Regions from separate parts of the Homo sapiens genome. Here region 1 is linked to region 2. Evidence: promoter capture Hi-C in human tissues and cell types (Jung and others, 2019). All regions are on one chromosome and are shown on one strand. Each heading gives the region's core, a stretch centred on a gene start or on the middle of the fragment in contact. The rest is flanking DNA. Distances are from core to core; before and after follow the strand shown. Region 1 overlaps BMPR1A (bone morphogenetic protein receptor type 1A). Region 2 holds the start of ADIRF (adipogenesis regulatory factor).

Region 1 (5,659 bases), core at 1,983-4,482, 52 kb before region 2:
CAGGTTCATTTATATATGGAAATACTCAGTTTTGGGTTGAAGGAACTCTTATTTGAGAGGACCTGTATTATGAACACTAGATATCCAGATAGGTTTAAGTTTTTAATTGTATTAGTTGAAAGAAACTGATCTCTTCTTATTTTATTTTATTTTACTTTATTTTATTTTAATCGTATCGAGATAGTCTTGCTCTGTCACCCAGGCTGGAGTGCAGTGGCCCAGTCTTCGGCTCACTGCAACCCCTGCTTCCCAAGTTCAAGCAATTCCCGTCTCAGCCTCCGAAGTAGCTGGAATTACCAGATGCACCACCACACCAGGCTAATTTTTTTTTTTTTTTTTTTTTGAGGGATGAGGTTTCTCCATGTTGGCCAGGCTGGTCTCAAACTCCTGGCCTCAACTGATCCTTCCACCTTGGCTCCTAAAGTGCTGGGATTACAGGTGTGAACCACCGCACCCACCCTGATCTCTAATTTTGAAATTCATCTTATTAAATAACTCTAATTGAATTGGAAAGGTAAAAGTAAAACTGCCTTCATAGGCAGACAACATGATTGTTTACGTAGAAAATCCCAAGAATGGTACAATAAAACTACTGCAGCCAGTAAATGACTTTATCAGGTTGCAGAATACAGAGTCATTGTACAAATACCATTGAATTTATAGGCTCTAGCAACAAACAATTAGGTAATTATAAAAACAGTATTTAAAATAGCATCAAAAACCATGAAATATTTAGAATAAGCCTAACAATTTATGCAAGACCTGCACACTGAAAATTATAAAACATTGCTGAAAGAAATTAATAAAGCCCTAAATAAGTGGAGATGTTTATAAATCTGAGGACTCAGTATTAAGATTTCAGTTTTCCTCAAATTGGTGTGTAATTTCATTCGAATCCAAATGAAAATCAGAGCAAACTTTTATAGCAATTGATGTATATTCTAACATTTATATGGAAATGCAAAGGACTAGAAGAGCCAAAACAATTTTGAAGTAGAAGAACAAAGAGGAATCACTACCTGATTTCTGGACTTACCGTAAAACTCAATAATGATCTCAATTTGGTACTGGCATAAGGATAGATGTATTGATGAATGGAACAGATTATGGAGTTTAGAAAGGAACATGCACTTAATATGGTTAATTGATTAAAAAAAAAAAAACAAAAAGATGCCCAAGTAATTCAATTGGAAAAAGGCAGTCCATTTAACAGATGGTGCAGGAAATATCAGGAATCCATTTACCAAGAAGTTAATCTCAGTCCTTACCTCCTCACTCTATACCAAATTAACTTGAAATGTAGCATAGACCTAAATGTAAAAGTTGAAGTATAAAACCTCTAAAAGAAAATGTCTGAAAAAATTATTCTGACCTTGGGCAGACTTCTTCAGTACATAAAAAACACAAATCATTTTTTTAATGATAAATCAGGCTTTATCAAAATTTAAAACTTCTGCTATTTAGAAGACAAGAAAATGAGAAGACAAGTCACAGATTGGCAAAACAGATCTGATACAGGGTTTTTGTGCAAAATATATAAAGACCTTTTGCAACTCAATAATAAGATAACCCAATTTTTTTAAAAAATGGACAAAAGATTTGAACAGACACTTCCCCAAAGAAGATATAAGAATGGCAAACAAGCACATGAAAAGATGCTCAGCATCAGCAGGGATATACAAATTAAACACAGTAAGATACTACTGCACATCCACTAGTATAGCTAAGACTGATAATATTAAGTGGTGCCAAAGATGTAGATCAACTAGAAATCTCATACATTGCTGGTTGGAATGCAAAATGGTATGGCTATTTTGAAAAATAGTTTGACAATTGCCTGGAAAGTTAAGGGCATACTTTCCGTACAATGAAGCAATCCTTCTGCTAATTATTTACCCAAGAGATATGAAAACTTGTCCACACCAGAGGCCTGAATGTGAATGTTTATAGCAGTTTTATTTATAATAGACATAAACTGGAAACAACCCCAAAGCTCATGAATTGCTAAATGAATAAACAAATGCTGGTACATTCATACAGTGGAATATTACTCATCAGTAAAAAGGAACAACTTCTAACACATGTAGCAGCAACAGTGGGTGAATTTCAAAAGTACTTTATGCTACATGAAAGAAGCCAGACACAAAAGGCTACACAAAAGTGATTCTCCTGCCTCAGCCTCCCAAGTAGCTGGGATTAAGGCATGCACCACCATGCCCAGCTAATTTTTGTATTTTTTTTTAAGTAGAGACAGGGTTTCACCATGTTGGCCAGGCTGGTCTTGAACTCCTGACCTCAGGTGATCCACCCGCCTCGGCCTCCCAAAGTGTTGGGATTACAGGCGTGAGCCACCACGCCTGGCCAAAAAGTGAGAATTTTTTTACGTTATTAAAATATTCTGTATCTTAATTGTGGTATTGGTGATTACATGATATAGATTTGTCCAAGGCTTGTTGAACTTTTCTCAAAAAGGGTACATTTTATATAAATTATACCTCAATAATCTTGACTTAAAAACTTACAGGCTGAGGCAGGCAGATCACTTGAGGTCAGGTGTTCGAGACCAGTCTGGCCAACATGGTGAAACCCTGTCTCTACTAAAAATACAAAAATTAGCTGGACGTGGTGGCAGATGCCTGTAATCCCAGCTGCTCGGGAGGCTGAGGCAGGAAATTGTTTTAACTGGGGAGGCAGAAGTTGCAGTGAGCTGAGATTGGCCGCCGCACTCCAGCCTGAGCAACGGAGCGAGACTCTGTCTCAAAAAAACAGAACAAAATTTACAAAAGGATTCTATAATAAATGATACATAAAGTCACTTTAGCTTTGCACTAAATCTAGTCCATTTTAGAAGCATTTCCAACTTGGAGCATAATGTTCTTTTTAATTTAGAATGATCACTAATGCTTCTGAAAATGAAAGATAACAATCCATGTACATCTTTTATTTAACAAATATTAAAGTACTTCTGATATTGTCCCAAATAAATACTTATATTCTGTGAGCAGGGGATGGAATTCAAGCAAATATATATGTAAATAAGAATAAAGTTATGATTGTGTTAAGCGCAGCAACTGAGAGGTTTTGTGTGCTATGAAGGTGTTTAAGTGAGAAAATAGCACTCTAAGTAAAGGGAACTGGATATTCAAAAAAACCCAGCGACAGGAATAAGCTTGAGTGAATTCTAAAAGTTGAGATAAGTCAAACGAGGTTTGTGGGTGGGTGGTCAAAGCAAATAATGGGACCAGGCCAGATCAGGCAGGGTCTTATAGATGGGATTTTTAAGATCTTTAACTGTTATTTGGACTTTGCTGCATAATAAACCACCCCAAAACTTAGTGATGTGAAGCAACAAACATTATTTCTCATTCTGTGAGTCTGTGGGGCAGTTCATTTGTTGGACTTGCTTAGCTAGAGCTAGGTGGTGTAGTTCACACCCTTGGCCGACAGTTCATGCTGCCATTATTTTTTGGTCACAGGGTTCCCAAAGCAGCAGGAAGGGGGCAAGCCCCAGTCCACAAACATTTGTCAGGTCTTTGCTTGCATCACGTTCGCTGTTGTTCTTTTATCCAAAGCAAGTCATGTGGCCTAAGCCCTGAGTCTGTGGACCAAGACTACCCACGACTGTGTGCACTGGGAGGGTAATTATTATGACCATTTTTGCAAACAGCCAGCCACTTGAATAACCTGTTTATGATTTCAGAATACATTGTACATTGTTTCATACTTTAAAGTACATTATGGCCGGGCATGGTGGCTCACGCCTGTAATCCCAGCATTATGGGAGGCCGGGGGTGGGGTGGATCACCTGAGGTCAGGAGTTCAAGACCAGCCTGGTCAACGTGGCTAAACCCCATCTCTACTAAAAATACAAAAAAATTAGCTGGGCATGGTGGCGGGTGTCTGTAATCCCAGCTACTTGGGAGGCTGAGGCAGGAGAATCACTTGAATCTAAAAGGTGAAGGTTGCAGTGAGCCGAGATCGCGCCACTGCACTCCATCCTGGGTGACAGAGCGAGACTCCATCTCAAAAAAAAAAAAGTACATTATAAGTTTTTAACTGGAGTTGGTTGGGTACACCATGCTTTTTGATGAGATGGACTACCCCTTTGCCAGTCTTAATGGGTTTCTTTCATCAAGAGCTCAAACCTTTTACTTTTTTCTATAAAGGTTCAGCGAACTATTGCCAAACAGATTCAGATGGTCCGGCAAGTTGGTAAAGGCCGATATGGAGAAGTATGGATGGGCAAATGGCGTGGCGAAAAAGTGGCGGTGAAAGTATTCTTTACCACTGAAGAAGCCAGCTGGTTTCGAGAAACAGAAATCTACCAAACTGTGCTAATGCGCCATGAAAACATACTTGGTGGGTACACACTGATTCAGTCAATTTCATTTTTGACAAGGCTAGTGAGGTACAGGTGGAAGCCTCCATATGTGCTTTGAAAATGTGTGAGTTCAACTATATACATTTGGCTAAAGGAAACCTAGTAGAATACACGGTTTGAATAAAACATAGTCCGGAATGCCAACCAAGATCTTTCTTTACTAACCAGCTGAAGAAACAGCAGTGAGTTTCAAATGGAAAATAATACTAGTTTATTGGACTTACTCCCATAGTAATGAAAACCCAGTCTTTTATAGATAACTTAAGCAGTGATTTAGGGTAACATTAACATATGTGCCTTTTCCCTTTCATAAGCTCAACAGCCCAACATGCAGTTTCATTGTACGTTCTGTGTTTAATGTGTGTTTCCCCCCATCTCCACATTTACACAATAGCAAAGTAATTTAGGTGTGAGCTGGTCAGTCAGGTACATAAGCCGATCTGGCTATCCTGAGTTTTCTTTTCCCTTCACCTCTTGTTTTCCTCCCTTTAATTTGGAGAGCCCATAGCATGTTGCCAAGCAGGCAATTGTATTAGTTTCCTAGGGCTGCTGTATCAATTACCACAAACTGGGTGGCTTCAACCTCCAAAACGTATTCACTCAGTTTTCGAGGCTAGAAGTTTAAAACCAAGGTGTTGGCAGAGCTGTTGTGTCTCTGAATACTCTAGAGGAGGAGCCTTCCTTGCCTCCTCTGGCTACTGGTTGGTGGCCAGGAATTTTTGGTGTTCCTTGGCTTAGTATAGACAACACTCTAGTCTCCATTTCTGTCATCAGGTGGCCTTCTCCCTGGGTGCCTGGGTCCACATTTCCACCTTACAACATCACCAGCCATTGAATTCGGGCCCACGCTAATCCTGTATGAGTCATCTTAACTTGATTACATCTGCAAAGACCCTCTTTCCAAATAAGGTCACGTTTATAGATGACATGGATTTTAGACATGAATTTTGTCGGGGAGCACTGTTCAGCTCAGTACATAGCACTCACTGACCTTTTTCTGGAGGGAAGAGGGTAGGAGAGAAAGGAAAAGAGCAGGACTGTGGGCCTGGCAGTCAACGAGCCAGACTGAAAAGGCAGCTGTGATGAGTCACTGATGGGCAAATGGGAGTTGGCTTAATTAGGAGCTAACTCTTAGTTGAACATTCTTAATTTTATAAAAGTGTCCACTTTTTGCTTTGAAATTGAGAGCCTTTTCTACTAGAGAATCATGTAGGTTGATAATATTCTCCAGGTTATTTGTATAATATGTCATCTTTTTCTTTTCTTTCCTTTTCTTTT
Region 2 (7,500 bases), core at 3,452-5,951:
ATGCTCCCCGCTGGACCTGGAGCTGGGTACCCCTTGCACCCCTCCTGCACCCAGAAGCCTGCCAGTTGCCACCAAAAACACAACAGCAGAGACGCACGAAGCCGCACCTTGACAGAAAAATAGTAAAAAGCAACAGCTGCTGAGGTCCTCACAGGCGTTGACTGGGCACTGTTCTGAGCACTTCACCTTATTTAATCCTCAGAATAAACCTCTCAGGTTGGAGCTGTAGATCCAGGTTTTGCTGAGACGCACAGGACTGGGCAGAAGCCCAGGTGGCTCCCCAGCCCTGCTATGGCTGCATGGACCCCAAGGTGCTTACAGTGGATTGCCCCCAACCCAAAGTTTCAAAACAACCCAGGGCTTGCTGGCCAGTGGCCTACATGAAAGGCTGTTTGCCCAGCCCACTCTGAACAAGCCTGCCGGGCACGACGCAAACCACCCATCATGTAGGCCACTGGCCAGCGTGTCCTGGGTTGTTTTAAAGCCTTGCATGCCGGGCGGGCTTGTTCAGACCAGGGTTCCCTGGGGATCCTGGCTTCCCCTTTGATACTCAGATGGTTTGGGCTCAAAGCATCTCAGTGCCTTGCCCCAGGCCTTCAGGCCTGGGTGTTGGAGCCAGAGCTTGAGTCCGTCCACATGTGACTTCAGACACTGCCCTGTCCACACCGCCTCCCCATCCAGCCTCTGCAGTGGATTCAAGGGCAGCCCAGGAGGCTGGGAGCCCAGTCAGACACAGCGGAGCCAGGCTGTATCTGTTGTCTGGCCATGGGCATCCACTGAGGAGGCAGAACGGAGCAGGGGGCTGCTGGTCTCCACATCCCCAAGCACTGCCATGGGCAGGCATGAAGGGTCTGGAAGCAGCTCAGGCCAGTCAGGGCTGTTCCTGCTCCCCAGCCCAGACATGTACACATTAAGCAGGCCTGTATGAACCCAGGAGGAGGCCACCTGGGGCCTGGGTGTGCCCGAGAGTCCCCTGGGCTGTGAGAGAAAGCAAGGAGGAGCAAGGCTGGTCAGGTGATGGGGGTGAGGGAGAGGGCACCTATGCCCGGCTCCCAGCGACAACCTGCCCCAGGTTTCAGGGCCCTCTGCCTCTGCTGGAGGAGCCCAGAGGGGTCCCTGCTGCCCCTACCACAGCCCCCCTACAACCCCCTCTCACATACACTCAGGGCTTGTTCCTGGACTCAAATGACAAACATCACCAGAAAGCCCCTTCCCAGCCATGGGCACTGGCAGTGCTCTTTGCCTTTGAAACCTCATGTGCTCTGCACCCTGTGAGGCTGCTTCTGACCTCCCTGCAGGAGCACGGTTGACTCCCCTTATCCACCAGGATACACTCAAGATGTTTCCAGCTGCCTGCAACCCCAGATAGTACCAAAGCCTACATATGTATCTTCCTACACGTACACATGTGCCTCCCTATGATGAAGTTTATACATTAGGCACAGTAATAGACTAACAATAACCAGTAAGAAAACGGAACAATTATAACAATATACTGTAATGAAAGTTATTTAAAACATGAATTGTTTATTTCTAGAATTTTCTTTTTTTTTTTTTTTTGAGACGGAGTCTTACTCTGTCATCCAGGCTGGAGTGGTGGTGCGATCTCTGCTCACTGCAACCTCTGCCTCCCAGGTTCAAGTGATTCTCCTGCCTCAGCCTCCCAAGTAGCAGGGACTACAGGCGTGCGCCACCACGCCCAGCTAATTTTGGTACTTTTAGTACAGACAGGGTTTCACCATGTTGGCCAGGCTGGTCTCGAACTCCTGACTTCAAGCTATCCACCTACCTCGGCCTCCCAAAGTGCTGGGATTACAGGCAGGAGCCATCACGACCAGCTATTTCTGGAATTTTCCATTTAACATTTTGGACCTTACCAATTGCGGTGCAGGGGCCAAGGGAAAACTTCCCCTTTACCCTCTGAAGGTTCACTGAAAAGTCAGCTCATGAAAGCAGAATAGAAATGGAATACACATTCATTAGCATGCAAGGGGAAATCAGAGTGACTGCCCCACCACGAAATGGGGTACAGATGAGCAATGGGGAAGTGTGGGTAATTTCAGGGGGCTAGTAAATGATTTTCAGGGGAATTCAGTGGGCTTGAAGAACATACAGTGGCCTGGGACAAAGTCTGTTGGGCTCACAGAGCAGACAACGGTTTGCAAAATCTGTCCAGGTATGTGAGCAGGCTTCAGTCTTTCTTCCTGTGACAGCAGTTCAGTCAGAGAAAACTCCGGGAAGGGACCAGTGGTCATTGTTTTCTTCTTTGGTGGGTCCAGACTTAAGGCAGATGAGGAACTTCAGAGAACAACTTCACTGTATGCTTTGGAAGAGACAAAGGGTTGGGGGGCCTGTGGGAGTCTGGTCGGAGAGACCTTAAGGCTTCTTCAGTTCAGAATGTCACACCACTATATTTCGGGGTATTGGTTTCTGAGCCCCAACAATGAGTAACTGAAACTGCAGAAAGCGAAATCACAAATTAGCTGGGGGTGGTGGCTCATGCCTGTAATCTCAGCTACTCAGGAAGCTGAGGCAGAACTGCTTGAACCTGGAAGGCAGAGGTTGCAGTGAGCCAAGATCCCGCCATTGCACTCCAGCCTGGGCAACAAGAGCAAAACTCTGTCTCCAAAAACAAAAAAAGGGAAAAAAAAAAGTGACACCACAGCAAACTGGGGCGGGGGTGGGGGAAACGGTAATGCGGTAATGCGCTCCCTCCTTCTGCCTCTCCTTGTCTGAGAAGCCCTGGTGCCCTGCACGCTCTCACAAGGTCCACTGCTGAGTCCTGGGCACCCTTCAGCCAATTTAATCTTCACACACACACTTTGGGGAGACGCTGTGATGTGATGGGGATGTTGAGGCTCAGAGAAGTGAGGGGCTTGCTCTAAGAATATCTGAACCCAAGAGGTTTGACTGTAGTGCCTGCCGCTAGGGCCACGTGGAGCTCTCTCTACCACCATCTGCTGGGGGCTGGCTGTCTCTTCCCACAGAGGCTGCTCCCTTCCTGTCCAGCTCACAGCTCATTGCCCATGGGGCCTGGAGCCCAGTGGCACCACCAGCCTGTGATAAACTGGAACACTCGAAGGCCTGCCTGGCTATTGGGCACTACCGGTGGGATTTCAGGAGGGCTGGCAGGGCTGTGGCCAGCCAGGCAGGGCATGGCTGAGATGGGCTCCCCAGAGTCCCCAAGGCATCCATATGGCCGCTCCCAGGGCAAGGCCTCGCTCTGGGAGAGGAGGGGCGGGGGGCTGGGAGGACTGTTGCTGCCGCTTTGTTTTGCCTGAGACCTGCTCCCTCCCCCTTCCTCCACCTAATCTCATCACCTGCCTCTTCCCTTTGCCCAGGGTTGACCTCATCTCCATTAATCCATACCGTGTGTGTGTGTGTGTGTGTGTGTGTGTGTGTGTGTGTGTGTGTGTGTGTACAGGTGCACTTCCAAACAACTCCCTCTAGGGGCTGACCCCGCAGCACTAGAAGCAGGGTATGTGCCAGCAGACCAAGCCTGTGTGGCAGGGGCTTCCCAGCGCTCCAGAATAGGGGAGACACCAGCAGAGGTGCAAGAAACAGCCCCGGACAGGAAGCGGTAGAGAGACCCAGAAAGGCAGGGTGGGTGTGCACTGGCCTCCAGGTCCTGAAGGCCTACTCTGGAGTGGGAGTATACCCAGCTGGGTGGGGCCTGACCTACACCCCTTGTGTGCCAGGGGAATGTATCTTGCAAGCTGTTTTGCTGCACCCAAGGATGATCTTCTCCACTCAGGCCCAGGTCCCTAAGTCCCCTCCTAACAGCCACAAGTCATACTCTCTAGCGCCTTGCCTGCCCCATCTCAGGAAAGGTGACCTGAGAGGCCCAAGCTTATTCCTGCCCTCCCTGAGCCATGCTTCCTGCCCAACTTCCTAAGGCTTCGGTGACAGACGGCAATCTCCTTGCCTGGGCTGCACAGGCACACTGCCCTCTCCCCCTTGGGGTTGCATGGTCTGCAAGTGCACACACCTGTATCTCGCCCTCTCAGGGGAAAGATTTACCAGGCCCTCTCCGGCTGCATCCACTGGGTCTCTGGCTACAGGCAGAGAGCCAGTCAGCAGTGCCCCTGCAGCTGTTTGGGGCTGGGGGCTCCGATGATGCCAGAGCCCTAGGGTTTACAGGCACCTAGGCAGATTCGAGGATCCAAGTCCCTGCCACATGCGTTTGGGTGAGACCGACCTCACTGCCTCAGTTTCCTCCTATACACTGATGCTATCAACAAAAATACCCACTTCAGGAGGTGGTTGTAAAGATTATACAAGAGACTGCAGAGCGTTAGGCAGCACCTGGCACAAGACAAATGCTCAGTAAAAGACCACTGCTGTCATTAAGGTCAACACCAGCCCTGAGCTCCTGCCCTGGAGCTGACCCAGCGCTCACGCCCAGGATCAGAAAGGGAGGGCTGGGGCTGATGAGCTGGGAGGTGGTGTGCGCCCTTCTCCTGCCTCCAGCTCCTCTCTGGACCCCTGTCCTGGCACCTCTTCGGTCCCTGGTTCGGTCTGCCCCTTTCCCACCGCGGCCCGTCTTAGGCCAGGATGTGCTCCCTGCCCTGCGGACTCTGGAGCAGGGCCCGGCCACTCCCCGGAGCCTGTATGACGGGAACCGCCCCGCGCCCTCTCCCCTACGCGGGGCAGGCCAGCCCTGGGGCGCCTTAAAAACCGGAGCTGGCGCTTGGCATCGCCACTCTGGGCAGGATCCAACGTCGCTCCAGCTGCTCTTGACGACTCCACAGATACCCCGAAGCCATGGCAAGCAAGGGCTTGCAGGACCTGAAGCAACAGGTGGAGGGGACCGCCCAGGAAGCCGGTGAGGATAGCGCGCGACCTAGGGCTCAGGCAGGGGCACCTGCGTGGATGCGCAGGCAGAAGCAGCGGGTCGGCGCGGTCCGCAAGTTCCTGGACCGGCAGCTTGGCTCGGAAGGCTCGGTCCTCCACTGAGACGCAGGGGGCAGGCAGAACGCCCACCCCGGCGAGCAGACAGATGGTGCCCGCAGGGAGGCAGCGGAACAGAGGCTCCGGAGGAGCCGGAGCTGCGCTGCGGGCACTGCGGGAGCCCCTCCAAGGAGGCCATGCTGGCGCTGGGCGGCCCGCCCAGGCCCTCAGGAGAGGGTGAAGGTCCAGGACAGGGATCGGGCGCGGCCCGCCACCACTTAAACCCGCGCGCGCCACCAGAGGCTGCCCCAGACCTCAAAGGGCTTTGTTTCCATCCCACCCCCATCGCCGAAAAGTAATCGTCGCCTTACCTTTAAGTCCCCACCTGGCAAAGAAGGTCCTTAGTTCCTCCACCTCCAGCTCTCTCCTCCGTATTCTGGAGGTGACCCAGCTGCGGTGGGGGCGTGGGAGATGTCAGGAGACCACTGGGTTGGTTCTTCCTGCACCTAGCCCAGGCTTCGTTAGGACTCCAGCTCCCTGTCAGTCCTGCCCATATCCCAGTCAGGAGACAATATCCAAACCAACCCCTTACTTCACCAGTGCTCCAGGGGAGGCCCACAGTTCTTCCCTTGAGACTGAAATGCTACCAAGGAAGCCTCCGTGTCAGGTCCCTTCCTTCTGGGCTTCACTTTTCCATCTGAGAGCTGGGTGCAAAGGATGGGCTGCTTTCTGATGGGTTAATCGAGACGAGGTTCCCAGGGGCCTCTCAGCACACTTGCCTGACTAACCCTTTCCGGAGGATGGGATCTGGGTAAGGCAGGCCCTTTCCTGTTCAGCAGCAGGGATGAGTTACAGCTCTGTAGGCGGGAGCCACCTGTCAGCCCCCCCGGGGCTGGTGACTCCATTCCCAGCAGGCCGAAACTCTGGTCCAGAGGAGATAGTCCGGCCTTGGAAGTTTTGCCTCCTTCCTTCATTTGTCTCCTAATGTCTTAAGCTGCCTGTCCACAGAGGCACTGGCTTTGCTTGTGTGCCCCTCCGGGCAGGCCACAGGAGGGAGGAGGCAGTAAGGACCTGGCAAAACTGCAAGCCCCAGGGCTAAGTGCATGAAAGGTGGGAATTCAGGCATCTGGGCCAGGCTTCTAGGGGAGAAGCTGTAAAAGGGGGCAAGGGTCTTCTGCGCCATCACCAGCATTAGCCAACAGTCCAGATGCTAGCTGCAGCCTGGCCCTGCCCTGCCTTCCTTCCTCTGTCCAACATTTTCTCAGTAGCCCTGGAGATGGAAAGGGAAGCTCCTCCCCCACAGAGAAGGAGCTCAGAGTTAGAAATAAACAAAAACATCCCAGAGGCATGGAAAGGTCTCCTGCCCCTCGGGCTGGGGGGCCCTGGGCCAGGGACTTTATCTCCATGGCATCCATCCCTTGGACCTGTACCACCGAATACTCTGGAGGACACAGAGGCATGGCAATGGTGGGGCACCTGTAGTCGGTGGTGCCTCAACAGGGGCTAAAAGCCACATCTCTCTGTTCCAGTGTCAGCGGCCGGAGCGGCAGCTCAGCAAGTGGTGGACCAGGCCACAGAGGCGGGGCAGAAAGGTCTGGTGGGGCTGGAGGGAGGCGGGCAACCCCAGCACACCTCCCACTCCCCGCCCCATCCCGGCTGGGGCCCAGGCACATCCTCTCCTCTGCAGAGCCCTCTGTCCACAATGCCCCAAGCAGGTCCCCCGGGAGACCCAGGCCAGGCTAAGCCTACAGGCACTGTGGTTCCCGGGCCCTGCCTGACCTGCCCTCTCTCCCGCCCTTCCCCAGCCATGGACCAGCTGGCCAAGACCACCCAGGAAACCATCGACAAGACTGCTAACCAGGCCTCTGACACCTTCTCTGGGATTGGGAAAAAATTCGGCCTCCTGAAATGACAGCAGGGAGACTTGGGTCGGCCTCCTGAAATGACAGCAGGGAGACTTGGGTGACCCCCCTTCCAGGCGCCATCTAGCACAGCCTGGCCCTGATCTCCGGGCAGCCACCACCTCCTCGGTCTGCCCCCTCATTAAAATTCACGTTCCCACCCTGTGTCCACTTCATGATTCCTCGCAAGCTGGGCCCAGTCCTCTCATCCCAAGAGCAGAGCCACCGTAGCCGGAGTCCTAGCCTCCCAAATTCGGAAATCCAATCCAACGGTCTCAGGAATGTTTTCCATCCCGCCACGCGCCTCCCGAAGCTCCCAGACCGGAGGCTCAGCCCCCATCTCGGTTAGTGCCCCTCTCCCGCCCGACTTTAGAGCCAGCCCCTGCCCCTTATTCCCTGCCCCAGGATCCCGGCCCCTCCTGGGAGCTGGGCTGGACTCGGTCCTCAGATCCTCGGAAGGCTCAGCTCTGGGCGGGGCAAGGGACCTTGCAAGTCGGGGGGGCCTCGGGAACTTCTCTCCGCCAGCTGCGACTGGAGGCTGGGAACAGGGGAGACGACCCAGGGCCACGGCCCCTCAGGACTTCAGGCGGCCGGAGGTTGTGGGGACGAAGCGGAGTCGGGAGCCGGGCTTCCGGCCCTCACTACCCCGTCTCGGCCCGCGGGTTGCCTGCGTGCCCGCCCCACCCAGCGGTGAGTCATGGGGCAGGGC

Evidence for each region. Contacts are between HindIII fragments. The study calls those that stand out against the background at their distance.
Region 1: a fragment that was not itself captured here is called in contact with the fragment with the promoter of ADIRF in region 2 in 1 of the 25 tissues and cell types used here (thymus).

What each region holds. Positions count from the first base shown.
Region 1 is chr10:86,912,968-86,918,626 of GRCh38, forward strand. BMPR1A (bone morphogenetic protein receptor type 1A) reads left to right here. Exons shown (of 13, transcript NM_004329.3): 9 at 4,167-4,359. Among named protein-coding and RNA genes, the nearest start is that of MMRN2, 42 kb to the right of the region's middle. The HindIII fragment of the contact is 5,173 bases long and covers 647-5,659 here.
Region 2 is chr10:86,963,781-86,971,280 of GRCh38, forward strand. ADIRF (adipogenesis regulatory factor) reads left to right here and starts at 4,702. Exons shown (of 3, transcript NM_006829.3): 1 at 4,702-4,825; 2 at 6,420-6,482; 3 at 6,696-7,135. The coding sequence starts at 4,765. The coding sequence ends at 6,802. ADIRF-AS1 (ADIRF antisense RNA 1) reads right to left here and starts at 7,460. Exons shown (of 2, transcript NR_170185.1): 1 at 5,262-7,460; 2 at 1,507-2,548. It overlaps AGAP11 (ArfGAP with GTPase domain, ankyrin repeat and PH domain 11), which reads left to right and starts at 6,556. Exons shown (of 11, transcript NR_171046.1): 1 at 6,556-7,135. RefSeq lists enhancers at 1,929-1,988, 2,059-2,378, 2,635-3,388, 3,389-4,141, 5,648-6,401 and 3 more and silencers at 5,512-5,806, 7,388-7,500. The HindIII fragment of the contact is 7,922 bases long and covers 1-5,679 here.